Linked DNA regions of Homo sapiens: region 1 is linked to region 2. Evidence: promoter capture Hi-C in human tissues and cell types (Jung and others, 2019). All regions are on one chromosome and are shown on one strand. The core of a region is centred on a gene start or on the middle of the fragment in contact, and the rest is flanking DNA. Distances in the headings are between cores, read along the strand shown. Region 1 overlaps GALNT13 (polypeptide N-acetylgalactosaminyltransferase 13). Region 2 holds the start of GALNT13 (polypeptide N-acetylgalactosaminyltransferase 13).

Region 1 (5,367 bases), core at 1,162-3,661, 270 kb before region 2:
CAAAATTGCTTCGAAGACTGTTTATTGTATATATTTTTTGTATATGCTTATTGTATGTACTTTTAAATGTATCTATATACAAACAAATATATATATATATATACACACACACACACACATATGCACAGGACTACATGTAAAATTATTTTTACATAATAATTTGCAATGCACAAATTTAATATTAAATGTTGAACTATTCCCCAGGGGCCAAAAATGTCCACAATATGTAATTACTTGTGATTTTGTTGAGAGAGACATTTCAAAAGTATACAATGGTTGTCACAAAGCAGTTGCTAAGATACCAAATAAACCTCTGACAATTACAAGCCCTGGAATCTCAACAGGGTTTTCTTTTTTCTTTTCCTTTCTTTTTTTTTTTTTTTTTTTTTTTTGAGACAGAGTTTCGCTCTTGTTGCCCAGGCTGGAGTGCAATGGCAAAATCTCGGCTCACTCCAACTTCTGCCTCTCAGGTTCAAGCAATTCTCCTGCCTCAGCCTCCTGAGTAGCTGGGATTACAGGCATGCAACACCACGCCTGGCTAATTTTGTATTTTTAGTGGAGATGGGGTTTTACCATATTGGTCAGGCTGCTCTCAAACTCCTGACCTAAGGTGATCCGCCTGCCTTGGCCTCCTAAAGTGCTAGGATTACAGGCATGAGCCACCAAGCCCAGCCAAGGTTTTCATATTATATGAAGTAATTCAGAAAGAAAAAAATAAGAGTTAGTAAATATGATGCTAATATCATGACACAGTAGTGTAATGTAGCCCACTAGAGGTGGCAAATTTTATTTGCATTAATTATGTTCTATTGCATGTAGAGAAAAATCACTAAGTGCTTAAAAGAACAATTTCTATTTACATGGAAGTGTGTCCTGCAGTATATTTGTAAACCTGGAGATTTTCTAAAATCTCAAGACACATCTTTTATTAATGCCAAGAGTTTGTTTTACGAGGACCATATATTAGAATTACAATTCTGCCACTAAATACTTTCATTTTATTACATCTGTTTAAAATATGTTCAACTATCTAGAGCATAGCTTACAGTTAATCACATAAAAGTTGAATTTTTCAACATCATTTTTCGTGCAATATTATTTCCAAGTGCATATTTCTTCCATAGCTGATAATTAAGCATTCTAATTATAAACAGCAGTATAAATTGCTGGAAACCATAATAAACCACTTTTATAGGGTGAAAGAGTCATATAGACAATGAGCTATTTTTGTGCTGGAAAAGCAATGCAGGTATACTTTTTATAAGCAAAGTATATGGACCTTTTTATGCAGTAAGGCAAATACAGCCATGCATTACCCAATGACAGATCACATATATGATGAGAGTCTCATAAGATTATAATGAATCAGAAAGATTCCTATTGCCTAGTGATGTTTGATGATCCTGACCCCGAATAGACCTAGGCTAATGTGTATGTTTGTGTCTTCGTTTTTAAAAGAAAAAATTGAAAATCACATTAAAAATGGAAAAAAACTAATAGAATAAGGATATAAAGAAAGAAAATATTTTTTACAGCTGTATAGTATGCTTGTGTTTTAAGGTAAGTATTAATACTAAACAGTTTAAAAGTGAAAAAAATTCAAGACTTTATGAAGTAAAAATATCACAGTAATGTAAGGTTAATTCATTACTGAAGAAAGAAATTTTAAAAAGAAATTTAGTATAACCTAAGTGTATAGTGTTTATAAAGTCTACAAGTAGCGTACAGTAATGCCCTAAGCCTTCACATTCACTACACACTCACTGACTCACCCAGAGCAACTTTCAGTCCTGCAAGCTCCATTCATGTTACATGACCTATACAAGTATACAAATTTTTATCTGTTACACCGTGTTTTTACTATACCTTTTCTATGTTTAGATACAAAAATACTTAACATAATGTTACATTTATCTCTAGTGTTCAGTACAGTAAAATGCTGTACAGAGTTACAGCCTAGAAACAATAGGCTACATTATATAACCTAGAAATGTAGTAGTCTATACCATATAGGTTTGTGTAAGTACACCTATGATGCTTACACAATGACAAAATTGCCTAATGACATATTTTCCAGAACATTTCTGCAGTGTTAAGCAATATACGACTGTAATCTACTAAAGAGCATATTTGCTCTGAATCTGGTACGATAAAGAAAGCACAACAAAATGACAACAACAAAAAACATCTCACATAGAAAAACCTGTTTGGCCTGAGTATTTTGCAGCATCTTTGCAAGTAACGTATTTTTCTTTGCCAGGGAAGAAAATAGTTCGCCTTTTTCAGCATATGCATGCACAATAAATTCCTGCTATGTGATAGGTACTCAGAACCACACATTGCTAGAATTGATATAATCTGAGTTAGCTCAAGTTCTGAGATTCTGAAATATGGTGATTATGAATATAAAAGATTATATAACAAATGCAAACTTACCCTTCTAATCTTACATCTGGCAGACTTCTATTAAGGGCAATCAAATCACTGGCCATAAGGTTAAACTGATTGATTTTAAACAGCTCTTTCATTTTCTCCTGGTCATCTTTAGGAATCAACACAGCTTTTCCCATTTCTCCTGGCCCTTCTTGGTTTCTTGAAATAACAGCTGTAAGACATACAGAGATACAGACATACATACAAACACACAGATAATGAACTGAATAAATAAACTTGTGTGTCTGATTAGATTCTGAAGCATATTATTTACATACAGGTTTTATAATATAATGATCAAGATTTTACTGATTATAAACCACACACTCTGCTAAAGAAAAACATCAATTCTGCGTATTATCTTCCAAGTTTAGATAAATTATATGATGACTAAACATTAAGACAATAATTCTAAATGTACAAAATACCCAATCTTAAAACTTCTGTCATATATTTCATACACTATTAGAGAAAACTGAAGTTGAACACTAGGCAGACAAAATAATGCAAAATAAAAGAACTTTAAAGAATACTAAGATTAATTTATTTTCACATCCAATTAAATGTTTTGATATTTCACATATCTACTGCCATTACATCTTTATAAAGGCAAACAAAACTAAACATTTTGAATTGTGTCAAAAGAAGCTTCATAGTGGTGACACATAACTTCAAATGTCAAGTTGAAATTTGGATACTATGTGCTCTATAATTGAAACTTCACAATAATATTCTGGGCTTGAATATTCGTGAAGAGAACGCAGGATTTGATATATAGGCTAATTTTCTCGCCACTTCTCCCAAGTTATCACTACACTAAAGTCCCTTCTAGATCTAAAGTATACGTTTCAAGGGGTGTGTGTGTGTGTGTGTGTGTGTGTGTGTGTTGCCTACACATACCTGTATGCATGCTAATATATAGTAATAAGACAAAGTGCCAGTTGGCCCAAATGCATCCTGAAGTTACTCTTCAGAGTGATATTAAATTAGGTTAAAGTGAAAGGAATGTGGTTCTGGTCTCGACTCTTCCAATGTCTCGACTCTTCCAATGTTCTGCTATATTATAGTTCCTAACACATTAATCTTACTGAGTTTAATTTCCATATAAATTAAAAGGCACATATTTAGGCACAGCATACCTTGAAATACTGAAAAAAAATAAGGACTATAATGCATATGAAAATAATTTTTAAGTTAGAACATTTCATTAAAAACATAAATTCTAAAATAATGTATGAATATGGTAAAAACTAGGATAGAACACATCCAGCAAATTTTGCTCTGAGCCAACCATCATAGCCACAAAACAGCAAAACTGGTATTATTAGCATGAATACACAGTTGACCATCCAGTTGATGACTTTGTAATGGCATGAGTCAAACCATATAAGAGAATAGGCATCTCTAAGGACCTTTAGATATGGGTAAAAAAAAGTGATTGGCCTTGAAATCCTCTCACATATATAAAAATAGTTAGAACTGGAAACATTGAATATAGAAAAAAATATGTATTCAATTTCAAACTATTTAAAAAGTTGTCATCAAAATAAAGTTTACAAAGATTATCATTCACTTTAAAAAGCAAAAATAGAAACAATGGCAGAAATTTTATGAGAAGGTGTATTTTTCTAAATTTAAGAAATAAAATTCCAATAAAAATAATTTTCTTTAGGTGTTAGTATATGTAATATCCCTAAACTCAGATGACGTTATTGGATTTGGCTTTGGATGAATTTGTGATGTCGGTGAGACAATGACATTAAGGTATCTTTCATTTGTAAGATTAAAAAAATTTTTTAGTCTACATAAAGTATTAAATGAATTTATATGTGGCTTCTTTGTGAGTCTTTCTAATTCTGAAATAAGAACATAAACAGGTGACATGGGCGCTCCTATTAACCATAAATATTCAGTTTAGGTTTTTTTTTTTTTTTTAACATATCTTGGACTGTAACTTTAATTCCATAAAAAAGAGATACTTTTTCCCTGGTATAAAAAATATTCTGATTCTTAACATTTTGAAAATTTGTGATTCTTTTGAATGGTTAAATAATTTGGGGTACATTTTTAAAAATAATTTTTGGAAATTAAGAAAGAAATTCCCTGTTTACAGTTGTTTACAATATCTTTGTAGGGGAACAAAACCTTCTTTATCCTCTTACATTCTGTGGTGATATAAGAATTAAACTGGCATAATACAGATTAATAGGAAAAGAGCATACAAATGTATTTTTATGTGTACACAGGAGTCTTCAGAAGGAAAATGAAGGTCAAAGAACCTTTTAGGCCCAAAAGCTTATATATCACTTTAAACAAAGAATAATAAATTGTCAGTAAGTGATAATACAAAGGAGATTTAGGTAGGGAGCTAGGGGCAGTAAATTGTGGGTTTGTAACTAGGAAATGTATGGGGAAAACTATGAGGAGATTAGGGTTATTTTAGTAAGCTTGTTTGCATAGGTCCATTCCAGTGTTGACTCATAACTTCTGGTGACGAGAACAATTTTTGCTTTCTAATACAGTGGGAAGGGGTGGGGGGATTTGTATCATGGGAAACTTTGTGACCTTCTTTTAGGCAGAAACAGGGAGATCAGAAACAGCTTCCTGCATGTGCTCTTTCTTAAGAAAGAGCCTGCAGCTTAAAATAACCCATATGACAAAGTGGCATATTTGGGGATGCATGTTCTGATCCCTTTCACCGTCTGTAAACTGATAAAAAGACATGCTGCAGAGAAAGTCACCATAATCAACACAATGCTTCCAAGACTAGGAAGCAGATAGGATTAAAATTTCGCTCTGTGGAAAAGACATGGGCTCAACTCTAACACCTTAAGCTATGAAGGTCAATTTAAAGCACACAGAAGTATTTGATATTTGCAATATATTCAAAGGCATGACAGTTTTATTTTCACATTATGTAAGTTATAGTTTTGT
Region 2 (5,572 bases), core at 1,549-4,048:
ATGAAACCTCCCAAAAAAGGAGCGGGGAGGTGGAATTTAGCTGCAGGCTCCTTAGCATACCTGGTAACTTGGAAGCCTATGATCCGCTGCATGCTAATCAATCAACCAACAAGTTTTATTAAGCACTTACTAGTTTCCCCACACTGTCCTAGGGACTACATATCTGAGACAGCCTCCATTCTCACATTCCCACTCAGGACTTTCCGAACTGGAATTAATCTATACCAGCAGTACCCTATAATTCCTTTAGAAAAGCTTTCTATTCTTCCTCTCCAAAGCGGATCCGAGACACAGTGCCCCTACTTAAGCAAGTACCTTAAGCCCTGGAATGGGATAAGCATCACAGAAATGGTGAAATAAAAGCATTTATTTAAACAAGCAGAAGCAGCCAGGAAAATTCTCCATGGAATTGAAGGTGGATAGGGGCTAAAGGAGAGATGTGAAATCCTGGTTTATGGCAAACAGTGCAGAGAAATGCATCTTTTTAATGTTCAAAGTCTGCCTTAGGCTACGCAAATTCTCCAGACCTATCCAATTCCCAAATCAAACGAACAGGGTTTCAATATGAAGGTTCTTATTCTGCAGGAGACGTGGGGAAAGAAAAAAAAAAAAAAAACAGAGATTGCGGGAGGGGGGTGCGGGGGGAAAGAAAGATTAGTAATGTAATGCAAAAGTCATTCTTTGAGGAAAAGGAAAGGATGCGTGTAATACAAGGAGAATTATCCCGGAAGGTGAGAGGTCCAAAAGTAAATAACCAATAGGTTGACCTTACTTTTCAATATTCTCGAACCAGCAGGTTTCTTTAACACTAGAGGGCATGAACGCAAACGAGACAGAGAGAGAGAGACAGGGAGACAGCGAGAGAGAGAGACACAGAAAAAGAGAGAGAGAGAAAGAGAGAGAGACGGACTGAGACTCTGAGGAAAGGCAGCTTTCACATAAAGCTGAAAATATTCAAGGATACCAGAAATTTCAAGGGGGCTTTGGCAGCCAAGTGCCTTTAGCCTTGCGAATAAAACCTCTATGTTGTTATGTTGTTTCAGGGAAGGCTGACCACGATCTCTCCAAGGAAACCGCTTTCCTAAGCAATGAATGCATGGTAGTTTAAGGCAGGCATACCTCAGTCCCCAAAGCTCCTCTCCTCTGCTAGCAACACCTTTGCCTGAAGAAAGCTCCCACCCTTTCGAGGTTAGTTTCCCTGAACCCCAAAGCATCTATGTTTGCCTGCTCACTGTCCGTTCTTCTGCAGCTGGCTATAAAGGTTGGGGAGGCAGACTCTCCTCCTGGAAATTCAACTAACCATAGTCAAAGAATCGGGTATGCGGGAGGGGCTTGCGCAGCTTTCGCTGTCCAGAGTAGCAGCCTCAGTGCGCTCAGGTTCGCAGCAGCGCAGCGCCCTCGGACCCGGCAAGGGGAGCCTGCTGCGGTGCCCTCCACTCTAACCCCTTGCGCCCCTCCTTCAGGTCCACGACAGCCTGGACAAGGGCAGGCTGTCTCCTCCGCGTCCCCACTGACCCCGCAGGAAAATCTCTGCACCTGGAGATACCCATTAGATGCGCCAGGGCTTGCTCCCCTAACCAAGGCGCTTCGGGATCGCGGGGCTGGTGTTCGGGAAGACGGGGCAGAGAGATGACAGAGGGAGACAGAGATAAGCTGCGAGAAGCAGACACAGAAAGAGAACAAATGTTGCAAAACGGAGAGACAAAAGGAAAGACAGATTAACAGGGACACAGATATCCCAAGAAAGAAAGAGGGAAACAGAATAAGAGAAAAAAACAGATACATGGCCGGAGAGTGTGGACTGAGGGGACCAAGGCTCAGAAAGAGAAACAGAGGCAGAGACACACACGGCGAGAATGAGAGGCAAGAGGACTCTGAAAAAGCGAGGCAAAGGGGGCACTATACGAAGGCAACCGTCGAGGAAGACACCCAAGACCCAGGGAGCGCCTGGTGTCGGGTCGAGTAGAAACGCCCGCAACGCAGCCGGGGCTGCCTGCAGCTGGTGCGAGAAAGTTGTCTGGGCTTGGAGGCCGAGCCACCCCCGCGGAGGAACGTCACCAGAACGCAGAGGGGGCCAGAGCCGCTCCCCCCCCCCCCCCCGCCACCAACAACTCACCGGGGTAGCCAGAAAAGCAGAGCAGAAGGTGGGCGGCGGCAGAAAGTTCCGCGCCACGCGGTCCTCCCGCAACACCTGCAGCCCCGCAAGCGAGCGCACTCGGAGCTCCCGGGAGGCCGCGTCGCCAGGTCCGCCCGCGCCCCTGCCTTTGCCCTGGGACCGGCCCGGGGCGCTCGGCTCCGCGCCCCGGCACTCGCCGCGGGACTTTGCGGCACCTAGCCCCGGCACTCTGGCAGCCCAGAGGGAGCTCGTCCCAGACAATCAAGAGGAAAAGAGGGGAAGCGAGAAAGAGACGGAGACCTGCTATCCTGGCCAACGATCCCGCGAAGAGGGAACGGCGGTCCACACACGGGATTCAGCCTCAGATCAAGCCCAGCAGGCGCCGGCCGGCCGCGCCGAGTGCGGGGCTCGCCGAGTCCGCGCTCACCTGGAACCCGCGCCGGCCCGCGAGCGCCGCGCGCAGCCCCGGCTCCCGCCCGCGCCTCTCTCTTCACACTTGCCCGCGAGCAGAGGGAGCCGGCTCCAGCCTCGGCCAGCCCCAGAGAGGGGCCTTCATAGCGCAGCGGCGGGCTGAAGGGCTCCTCGAGCGCGGCCAGAGCGGACGCTGAGGCCGAGGAGGCGCCCAGAGCGAGCGAGGGCTGCTAGCACGTTGTCACCTCAGCAGAGCCGCCGCCGCCTGGTCACTTCTCCCCGGCCCCCGCCCCCCTCCCACCCCAGCCCGCCGCCTCCCGGTCCCTCCTCCTCGCGTGGTCCCTCCTCCTCTCGTAGCCCCAGCCTGGAGGCCTCTCACTGGGCTAGTATCATTTACGTAACCAGCACCCCCAGCCCTCCTCCCTCCCTGCTCCCGCTCCTCCCCGGGCTGGGGCGGTGCGCACCGAGCGCGCTCCAGCTGCTTCTGGAGCTGGCGCTTCTGCGATGTGCGCAAGTCCCGCGATACTTGGCAGGCACGGCCCCCAAGAGCAACCCTGGGGTCAGCTCCTCTCGCCGGAGGGCGCCTCGCGACCCCTGGCCGCTTTGGGGCCCCACAACGCCAAAGCCGGCCTGCGTGCACCGCGTTCGCCCAATGCACCAGGGAGCCTCTTAGAGGGGAGCTGGAGGATCAGAGACTGCCCTCGGGGAAAGCGCCGGCAACCCCACCCTTGCCGTCGGCTCTCCAGCCGAGAGATGCTGCGGGGTACTTGACGCTTCGGCGCCCTCCGCAGAAAGGACGGAGGTTGGCCTCTTGTTGGTTACAGTATCTACACCCTGGCAGGATCCTAGTGTTCTGGTTGGCGGTGACTACTGCCACCGAACGCACTGTAAGAGTACTGGAAACACAGAGCGCTTCCTTGTGGCTCTCAAATTTTTATGAAGAGGTAAAGAAAAAAGTGGGGCTTTGAATTCCTTTCTCAGGCAAGTAGGTATGATATTAAACACACACCCACTCCGAAGTACCTGGACGTATGAATGTCTCAGTTAATGTGTTGTACCAATACCCCCATGGTACTGAGTTTAAATACATGTAAAGATTTTAGAACAGTGCCTGGCACAAGGCAGAAACCTAAGACGCAGACATTATTAGCGTCTCAAAGACTTGGGACCTGTCCCCCACTGCCATGGGAGAGGAACTTTTCTAGGAAATTGGGATTGCCGAGTTCAAGTGCCTGCTTGGCAATTTATTCACTGTGGCTCTTGGCTAGTTTTGGCCCTTCGGGTGTCAGTTGTCTTGTTTGTAATAAGGGCTGACAGGGGTCCTTGCTTCTCACAGTGTCACTTCACACATCTTATAGGATGTTTTTGGCAGAATTGGGGGAGGATATAACGACTACATAAAAATATTAAACAGCCACGTTTGACAAACATATGATACTATTAATCATAATCTAGTATGTCAATGCCATTCTTGATTATACTCATGAAAGGCAATTTCCAGAGATATTATCTTTATATCTTTTCGTGAGTCAAGTATCATTTAAATTTCTATGTTAATAACTGTATTAATGTCTCCTCCTACATTGTCCATCCTGCCCTACCGTCAATTATGGAGCATTTACCAGAGATGCTTCTGTGCATGTGTGAGTACACAGGGTCCCACTCATAACACTCTGGAATGTCTCTCTACTGCTCTCTCTAGTGAATTCCAGTCCTAACATCAGGTCACTCACCTCTACATGGCATACTGAGAAAAACTGTGGACCAGGTAAAAGATTGGGGTTCTGATGCTGATACAGCTACTTACTAGTCCTATGTTTTTCAAAGACAAATAAGCCCCCATTCTTACATGTTTCATCTCTTAAAAAAAGGCGCAATTCCATTTTGCAGTCTTTGTGATAATATTTAACTTAGGCAGAATCATAAACTTGGTAAAATTTATTTGGGTAATTGGATATTTACGTAGTCCCAAAGTATCACCCTAGAAAGTATTGGCTTTTGGTGCATAACACACCATTCCAAAACTTATTAGCCCCAACCAATAAACATCTGTAATTTCTCAAAGCTCTGTGGGTTGTCAGGTTGGTTTCTGCCCTGGCTAGCTCAGTTTGGTTTAGAGATCTAGGATGGCTTCACTCACTTGTCTGGTGTGGCATACTTATTAGTCTTGAGGGTGTGGGACTCAGCTGCAATGTTTTGTCTTTTGTTTAATCTAGCCCATCATCCTTCAATAGGCTAGCAGTAGTCGTAGTTGCAGGGCTCCAAAAAGCAACAAGGGAGTGCAAGCTCCAATGTGAAGTACTCTGAGATTCTGTGGACGTACATTTGCTGGTGTCTCATTAGCCATGGAAGTTACATGGCCCAAACATAGATAATATAGTCCATGTCTTGATGGGAGAAACTATAATGCCATATTTCAAGGAGAATGCATACACAAAAATAACTTGAGGCTGTTTTTATAATATACTATAGATCCTTAATTACAAACGAATAATAAATTACATGTAGTGGATAAATCTGGTAAACATCACCTTAACCAACTGACCAAGGTTAAAGTCACCAATAATGGGACCAAGTGATATCATGAGCCTCATGATATGATGCACTGAGAAGTACATAACATTATTGATTTAGGATTCCAGATTAAAAAATGCATAATTGAATGCAATCACGAGAAAGCAAAGAAAGCCTTAAATTAAGGAAAATTCTACACAATATCTTGCCTATACTTTTCAAAAATGTCACTGTGATGAAAGTCAAAGAAAAGCTGAGGAAATATTCCAGACTAATGGAGATTTAAAAACCATGACTACTAAATGCAATGTGTAATCCAGAATTGGAGAGCAAACTGGGAATAATATCTATTAATATAAAGAGCATTACTGAGACAATCTAATTCAAAATATTAATAAAAACTATAATATCTAAACTGTATGACTTTTATTTATAATCAAATTAGTTTTATATCAATATTAAGTGTCCTAATTTAATTGTATTGTGATCATATATAAGAAAGCCCTGGATCTTTAAAAAATATAATAAAAT

What was found. Contacts are between HindIII fragments. The study calls those that stand out against the background at their distance.
Region 1: a fragment that was not itself captured here is called in contact with the fragment with the promoter of GALNT13 in region 2 in 3 of the 25 tissues and cell types used here (aorta, hippocampus and mesenchymal stem cells).

The regions. Positions count from the first base shown.
Region 1 is chr2:154,137,575-154,142,941 of GRCh38, reverse strand. It overlaps GALNT13 (polypeptide N-acetylgalactosaminyltransferase 13), which reads right to left. Exons shown (of 13, transcript NM_052917.4): 4 at 2,437-2,605. Among named protein-coding and RNA genes, the nearest start is that of GALNT13, 270 kb to the right of the region's middle. The HindIII fragment of the contact is 6,291 bases long and covers 1-5,367 here.
Region 2 is chr2:153,869,148-153,874,719 of GRCh38, reverse strand. It overlaps GALNT13 (polypeptide N-acetylgalactosaminyltransferase 13), which reads right to left and starts at 2,798. Exons shown (of 13, transcript NM_052917.4): 1 at 2,417-2,798. The HindIII fragment of the contact is 9,874 bases long and covers 1-5,572 here.